Regions from separate parts of the Homo sapiens genome. Here region 1 is linked to region 2. The links are contacts of gene promoters, found by promoter capture Hi-C in blood cells and fetal thymus (Javierre and others, 2016). All regions are on one chromosome and are shown on one strand. The core of a region is centred on a gene start or on the middle of the fragment in contact, and the rest is flanking DNA. Distances in the headings are between cores, read along the strand shown.

Region 1 (4,101 bases), core at 646-3,145, 160 kb before region 2:
TTGGAAGTGCGGTGGTTTGAACTCTCCTCATTTGGTTTCCCCTTTCACTCAGGTGCTAGTAATTGAGCCTCAAAATGAAGATGGCACATGGCCCAGGCAGACCTTGCAGTCAAAGTAAGTGAATTTTTTCTCCCTTGTTGTAGGCTCACATGTGCAAAAGAGACAGTCTTTCCTAAGGCAGTACTTGTACTAAGAAAAATTGTTCTGATTCAGATGAACAATGCCTATTTTGTATATCCAGAGTTCATGCTTCTGGATGAAGACCGTGGCTTTTGGTAGCAGGGCAGCATCTAAGGGAAGCCTGTCAGGATATCTCAGCAAGGTGGCGAGCCTCTGCTCGTGGAGAATGAGAAAAGGAGGAAGGGATATGAGGGATCAAGTCTAAGGTTGCTGCTCTACCAGGAGGTTGCTTTGTTTTTGTCACGCTTTTATTTTCTCCACATGTAGTTAGAGGCCTTGATGGATAAGAGGAAGGCTAAGGCATGGGGTTTTATATGACTTAAAAGTGATAGTTGAGGCCTGAGCATGGTGGCTCATGCCTGTAAGCTCAGCACTTTGAGAGGCCGTGGGAGGTGGCTCACCTGAGGCCAGGAGTTCGAGCCCAGCCTGGTCAACATGGTAAAACCCTGTCTCTACTAAAAATACAAAAATTAGCTAGGCATGGTGGCAGGTACCTGTAATCTCAGCTACTCGGGAGGCTGAGGCTCAAGAGTCGCTTGAATCCAGGAGGTGAAGGCTGCAGTGAGCTGAGATCGCACCATTATACTCCAGCCTAGGTGACAGTGCAAGACTCTGACCCAAAAAAAACAAAAACAAAAAAAAAGTGATAGCTTGATTCTACCTGTTTCTGCCCAGTGGCCTGTTACTCATTGTTGCCCTGGGAGCTTGCTGGGTGAATTGTTCAGCTACAAAACTTGGACTAAGGACACATCTGTTTCAAGAGATGTTCATGTGGTATGTGGAACTGTGCATGTTCTTAGGGAGATAAAGAAGTGATTAATTTTCGTTATGGTATAAGTTTTGGAAATTATATCTGTGTTCCAGTAGTTATGGGAATAATGTTGCGCTCTGTCCTTTTCCCTCTGTCAGGCCTTGGACTGTGACCATTACATAGTAGTGGGCTCCTAGGTCATTTGAGAACCATGAAAACTATGAGTTCTTAAGAGAAGAACTGTTAGAACCCCTGAAGTCCAGTCATGGACTCCAGTTTAAGAAACCCCGGTTGCCAGTTGTTGACAAGATAAATAAAATAGCTGTGGTAGGCATAGCTGTGCTCATCTTCACCCTGAGATATCCATATCCTAATTCCCAGAATCTGTTTCAGAATCTGTCATTATGTCAGGTGACATGGCAAAAGGGACTTTGCAGATGGGATTAAGCACAATGGTGAGTGCCTGTAGTCCCAGCTACCTGACAGGCTGAGGTGGGAGCATTGCTTGAGTCCAGGAGTTTGAGGCTGCAGTGAGCTATGATTCTGCCATTGCCCTCCAGCCTGGGCGACAGCAAGACCCCATCTCTTTTTTTTTTTTTTTTTTTTTTTTTTTAAAAAGGCCAGGAGCAGTGGCTCATGCCTGTAATCCCAGCACTTTGGGAGGCCGAGGTGGGCGGCTCACCTGAGGTTGAGAGTTTGAGACCAGCCTGACCAACATGGAGAAACCCTGTCTCTACTAAAAATGCAAAATTAGCCAGGCGTGGTGGTGCATATCTGTAATTTCAGCTACTTGGGAGGCTGAGGCAGGAGAATCGCTTGAACCCGGGAGGCGGAGGTTGCAGGGAACTGAGATTGCACCATTGCACTCTAGCCTGGGGAACAAGAGCGAAACTCCATCTCAAAAAAAAAAGAATGTCTGTTCACCAGTGAGTGAAGACAAGCCATAAGCCATACAGTGAGAGAAGAGATTTGTAATCCATGTCTGACAAGTTGTGTCCAGAATTTTTTTTTCTTTTTTTTTTTTCCCTGTGACGGAGTCTTACTCTCTTGCCAAGGTTGGAGTGCAATGGTGCGATCTCAGCTCACTGCACCCCCACTCCCGGGTTCAAGTGACTGATGCCTCAGCCTCCCGAGCAGCTGGGACTACAAGCTCCCACCACCATGCCCAGCTAATTTTTGTATTTTTAGTAGAGACAGGGTTTTACCATGTTGGCCAGGCTGGTCTTGAACTCCTGGCCTGTAGTTATCTGCCTGCCTTAGCCTCCCAAAGTGCTGGATTACAGGCATGAGCCACCACAGCTGGTCGTATATCTAGAGTTGCAAAGAAATTCCTACTAGTCAATACAAACAAGTCAGGCAACACTAGTAAAAAAAAGAGGCAAAAATGTAGAATTATATGCACATTCTGCTACTCAACAATCCTGTTGTTAGGCATATAACCAATAGAAATATATCCCATGTTCTCTTAAATACATATTTCAGGATGTTTGTGCTAGCACTGCTTGTCATAGTTACAAACTGGAGCTAACCCAAATGTCCATCAAAAGTAAATGGATAAACTGCAGTAAGTGTAAGCACACAAGGAAATTCTGTCCAGCTTTGCACAACAGTGATGAGTCTAATGAAAAATGATGAATGAGAGAAGGTAGACACAGAGCAGGGCATAATGATTCTGTTGACTTAAAACTTTATAACAGGCAAAATTAACCTTGGGGATTCATGGTCAGAACTGGTTAGTGTTGGGAAGAATTGCGACTGAATCGTGAGAAGGACACCTAGGGGTCTGGGGGTGTCCTGTTTCTTGGTCAGGGTAGTGGTTACATGGATGTATCACTTGGTGCAAATTTCTTGATTTTATACACTCAGGGGTTTTGTTTTTTTGTTTTTTTAATAGACGGAGTCTTGATCTGTAGCCCAGGCTGGAGTCCAGTGGCATGATCTCGGTTCACTGTAACCTCTGCCTCCTGGGTTCAAGCAATTCTGTGCCTCAGCCTCCTGAGTAGCTGGGATTACAGGTGCATGCCACCCATGCACAGCCAATTTTTGTATTTTTAGTAGAGACGGGGTTTCACCATGTTGGCCAGGCTGGTCTCGAACTTCTAGCCTCAAGTGATCCGCCTGCCTCGGCCTCCCAAAATGCTGGGATTACAGGCATAAGCCACGGCGCCCGGCCAAAAAAAATCAATAATAGGCCAGGTGCGGTGGCTGGCCAACATGCTGAAACCCCATCTCTTAAAAAATAGAAGAAAATTAGCCCGGTGCAGTGGCACATGCCTGTAATCGTAGCTACTGGGGAGGCTGAGGCATGAGAATGGTGGTGGGGATTGCAGTGAGCCTAGATCGTGCCACTGCACTCCAGCTTGGGCGATACAGTGAGACTCTGTCTCAGGAGAAAAAAAAAAAAAAGGTACAATAATAATCAAGGTTTAAGAAAGCAACTAGTATCTATAATATTCCAGAGATAAATTCTGGGTAATTCCAACATAGGTGAGGAATTAGTATAGAGCAGAGAGAGATGAGAATGTCCAGAACTACTATTCTTGAGGATGAGAAAGGTGAACAATTGTAAGTTTATGTAATTTATGGGGAAAAATAAAAATAGAGATCCTAATAAGTTAATGGAACAACTAACAGAAACGGAAAATTGAATGTATAACTTTGAAACATACTACGTCAGTTAGGAAAGGCTTGCTGGCAGGTAAGAAAAATCTGCAAATTAGCGTATTAAGCAAGATGGAGGCTTACATCTTTCTGAAAAGAATTTCTGACGTAGGCAGTCAATCCATTGCTGACGTAGCAGCTCCATGGCAATATTAAACCCAGCTGACCTACCCCTTCCTTTTTAGGACATTTCTCAGATATCATACATCAAACCTCCTTTGTATCTCATTGGCTAATCATATGACAATACCTGGCTTTCAGGAAGGCTGGGATGTACTGTATAGCAGGACTGCATCATGTCCAGCTAAAAACTGGGGTTCTCAAACTAAGGAAGGAGGGGAAAATAGCTAGCAGGAGGCGACTAGCAAACTGCCACACCTGCAAAAGGAAAATTAATGGAAGGCAAAAATGAAGGGGGGAAAAAATAAGAAGTATGGTAATTAGAAAGCATGTTAGAACATGTGGAAAAAGGGGGAAAAAAAAGAAACCTGAAATAAGGAGGCTGAATT
Region 2 (4,233 bases), core at 1,520-4,019:
CTCCCAAAGTGCTGGAATTACAGGCATGAGTCACCGCGCCTGGCCTAGAATCTTTTGCAGGCTCTGCTTCTTCTCCATCACCAGGAATTGGCTCCTCAAGATTCAACCCTGGCTTTTCTCCCTGGCACACATATTTCCTCTTGGGGCAGTCCCTCCCAGGCCACTGCCTTCATTCACATCTAAAGCTCCATCACATCTCTCTGCTCAGATAGAGCTGGGTCCAGGATCCACTGAGAACCATATAAGGCTGGAGGGGCAGGTGGCTCACACGTGTAATACTAGCACTTTGGGAGGCTGAGGTGGGCAGATCACCTGAGGTCAGGAGTTCAAGACCAGCCTGGCCAACATGGTGAAACCCCAGCTTGACTAAAAATACAAAAAATTGGCCAGGCACAGTGGCTCACGCCTGTAATCCCAGCACTTTGGGAGGCCAAGGTGGGTGGATCATTTGAGGTCAGGAGCTTGAGACCAGCCTGGCCAACATGGTGAAACCCCACCTCTACTAAAAATACAAAAATTAGCCAGGTGTGATGGCAGGCGCCTGTAGTCCCAGCTACTCTGGAGGCTGAGGTAGGAGAATTGCTTGAACCTGGGAGGCAGAGGTTGCAGTGAGCTGAGATCACGCCACTGCACTCCAGCCTGGGCAACAAAGGAGACTGTCTCAAAAAAAAAAAAAAAAAAAAAAAAAAGGAAGAAGAAGGAAAAAAAGAACCATATAAGATGCCAAATGGAAAGCAAAGATTGGGTCCTGGGATCACCCTGTGTTCTCTCCCATCTCATCCTGTCTGGTCCCAGTTGTGCCTGTAGGCTCAGCAGCCACTAGAGTCCAGGTCAAGTCAGACTGCACTCTGATGAGCGCTCCCAAAGAGTTCCATCTAGGGCATACTGGGCACCAGGAGGCAAAAAGTTCGGCCCTACCACCCCCAAAGGGAGCTAGGTACCCCCATGATCCTTATCCCTAATCTCTATCATTTCCCCAGTTCTCATGTCTGGAAGGGACACAGCACAGCCGGAGGATGGACCTACCCTTCCTGGTTTTCCATTTGCCCTAACTTCTGAGCTGAACATCACCAGAGAGGGGTCTGGATATAACTGTACTGTTGCTATCCCTGGAGGATGGGCTCTGGCTCTCCATGGAAGGGGTTTCTGTTTGCACAGCCATGGCCCACCTGCACACAGGAGGCCAACACTGCCGGCTTTGGAGAAGCTGCAGAAGGTAACTGGTTGAATCGGTCCTGAATAAGTGAACAGTCAATCTTCAACCATGGACGGCCAGAGACTGGACTCACCCACAGCTGGGGACTGGGGGCACCAAGGTGGGGCTTCCTGACTGCACCCCATGAGATCCTGGCCCCTGGGACCCTACTCTTGCTTTCTCTCCACCAGGAAAAAAAGGCTAGAAGCACTGACCCCAGAGGAACAGGAGATTTTGCAGTTCCTGCTAGATACCTTGGCTATACTTAAAAGCAGCGAGGACCTCACCATTAGTGCTGAGGCCCTGGGAAGCTAAGAGGCACCAGATGAGGCCTATGGCACTGCTGGGTGGACTAGGCACTTGTCTTTAGGAGTGCCTGGACCCCTCTGTATAAGCAGGGAAAATACAGAGCAACCAGAGGATCCTGGTTGGAAAAAGGGCAGGAAAAAGGGCTAGTACCCAGTCCCTAAATGAAGCATCCCGCCACCCTCCTGTGATTGCCAATAGGCTTCCACCTGACCCCAACTACCAAATAAGGCACCACTGCAAGGGTCAGAGTCCAAGAGTTGTGGCAATATTTCTGCCTCCTGGCTCAGGCTCTGACCCTAGTGCAAATGCCCCCACTACCTCATCCATGAAACCAGGGCTCCCAGGATGGTTCCCAACCTGGACTTGCAAACCTCTGACTAATGGGACCTTTGGTCAGAGCTGTGGAGACCACTCTGACCTCTCACTGAAGTCACAGACCCCTAGGGTTGATTTTGACCTGTGTCCTATAACCACCACCCCGTACTAGCCCAAGAGCATGGATAAAAAGACTGAGGTCCCAGACTCCTAGGCAAAAGGAAAGGGGTTCTGGGCAGTGTTAAGACTGGAAGCAGGACTTCCTTCCATTGAGGGGCTGAGGCTGGGCCAGTGACTATACCTGCCCCCACCTGCCTGAGCAAGTATACTCAGGCCCACAGTGGTATACTGGAGCCCCCAGACTCCATGTGCGCTTGGGCTTGCGTGCACCACTTGTGATCACGTGCACACCAGCCTTTCATGCCATGTGCCACAGGCCCTATTCTCAGGAAGAGAGGAAGGCCTGCTGTCCTCGGAGAAGATACCCTTACTGCAAAACAAAGGAGATCACCTGAGACTCCCTGTCAGGAGGCACTCCTCTTTCACCCTCTGGTCAGGTGTCTGGGACTGAAGTGGGCATTGTCAGTGGCTAAAGATAGATCAGAGGGTGGAAGATGGCCTGAACCTTGTCAGGAGCCCCTCCCAGATGTCAATGCACCACTAGCTCCCCTCAGAAAAGGTGTCAGATGACCCCTAATCCAGTCTTGGCCGGGCTCTAGTGAGTCCTTGCCTGGGGCCGCGTCAGAGGGCACCTCTGTTCTTCAGACTTCTGCACAGGGCCGAACGGGTTTGGAGCAGTCACCGCGGCCACCACCTCCAGGCAGTCCTCCTTGGTACCCAATCTGCTCCGCCCCCAGACTTTGTGGGGAAATGGGGTCTCAGGGGTCAAGGGTCGGTAGGGCGGGCTGGGTCCCGGAAGCGGAAGCGCAGTGCACTTCCGGCGCGCAGCGGGCGGCCATGTTGGAGCAGCGGAGGCGGCGCAGAGGCGCGTCTTGGGTCCCCGCGGCGGCGCCGGTAGGTTGGAGCCGCGGGCCTAGCCGCGCCGCGGAGGGGCGGCCCGCGAGGCGGCAGGGCGGACGGGCAAGCGGCCAACTCTTCCCGGACCCGCGTCCTCCGCCGGCCTGGCCGAGACCCCCCACCCCACCCCCACCCCGCGCCCAGCGACCCCACCCTGGGGCTGTGCGGTCCCGGTAGGGCTAGCACCGTTCACCCTGTACATTTCGCTGCCTCAGTGACCCCCGCCTCACGGCTTGGGCCCTAAGGACGTGCATTCCCAGCCTGAGGGCCCCGATCTGCCCCCTCCCCCGGTCTGCCTGTGTGGCGCCTCTCTCACGCCCTATCTTCCGTCAACTTCTCCTGCCTTCCCCGGGGGCACGTGTGAAGGGAAGTCGGAGGCCGGGCAGGAGCCTCTGTTTCCGAAGCTTCTCGAAAGCCCAGAAAACCCCTCCCAAGAGCCCAGCCTAACCTGGGTGGAAGAGCCCCCAGGTCACCCCAAATATTTGCGCTGGGGCGCGTGTGAGGGTGGGAAATAGGTCCCTCTCTCTTCTACAGTTCACAGCTCTGGGAACTACATCCCTTCAAAAAACATTAATAAAGAACTAAAGTCATGTGCAAGGATTGTGCTTGGAGAACGGTCTCTGGGGAGGGGAAGTGCCCAAGACACCTGAGGATCCAAGAATGTTTCCAAACAAAGAGCCCTAGGGCATTTCCTCCAGGGTATTCTGAAGACTTCATCTGCTGCATTAGAGCGGTGGGAAGAAACTACACAGACGGGCCTCATGGCCCGAGGGACCTGCCTGATCCTGGCTGATCTTTTAATGCTCTGGTGCAGCTGGGGAGCTGCCTCTTGCTTCTGGGAACCCTCAGTGTTGGGTTGGGTATTAGATGTTAGTTATGATTGATGTCCACAGCTTCTTTAAAGAAGTCTGGGAGTAGTTAGGTGTTCTCAGTCACCTCCATCTGGGCTGTACTGAGGTCTGTGGCCCTCCAAGTCTTAGGTAGGACAGTGCATACCGCTAATGTCCCCTTGACTCACCATCCTACTTGCAGCCTTTGGCTCCCATTGTCCTTAAACTTTGGGATCTTGGTCTGGCTTCCTGGTCCCTGGTCTGCCTGGTTGCCTAGAGAGATGTCATTGGCACCTGCTACTCATCAGCTTTTTAGTTTCTGTTGAAGAAAAGTCCGACTCTTGATTAGGTCTCCATGCCTCTGGAGCTAGAAAATGGGTTGCTGAGTACCCTGTCTAGAGACTGAAAACAGAACTTCTGGTGGGCAGGGAGATTCCCCCACCCCACTCCAGCTCCACACATGAACAGCAGCAGCTGGAGAAACAGATGGGCATGGACAGTGGGTGTAAGTCTGGGCCCTTTGGCTAACATTCAGGGTTCTTTGTTGCTCTATCCTCGCCTGTTTTT

What was found. Contacts are between HindIII fragments. The CHiCAGO score rates a contact against its expected background, and 5 or more counts as called.
Region 1: a fragment that was not itself captured here is called in contact with the fragment with the promoter of CCDC71 in region 2 in 5 of 17 cell types (endothelial precursors, M1 macrophages, erythroblasts and 2 more); the score reaches 7.2 in endothelial precursors.

Annotation. Positions count from the first base shown.
Region 1 is chr3:49,320,715-49,324,815 of GRCh38, reverse strand. It overlaps USP4 (ubiquitin specific peptidase 4), which reads left to right. Exons shown (of 22, transcript NM_003363.4): 6 at 53-114. Among named protein-coding and RNA genes, the nearest start is that of USP4, 17 kb to the left of the region's middle. The HindIII fragment of the contact is 4,741 bases long and covers 1-4,101 here.
Region 2 is chr3:49,164,867-49,169,099 of GRCh38, reverse strand. It overlaps CCDC71 (coiled-coil domain containing 71), which reads left to right and starts at 2,769. Exons shown (of 2, transcript NM_022903.4): 1 at 2,769-2,833. RefSeq lists enhancers at 2,488-2,607, 2,628-2,697 and silencers at 2,848-2,927, 2,948-3,007. The HindIII fragment of the contact is 8,654 bases long and covers 1-3,242 here.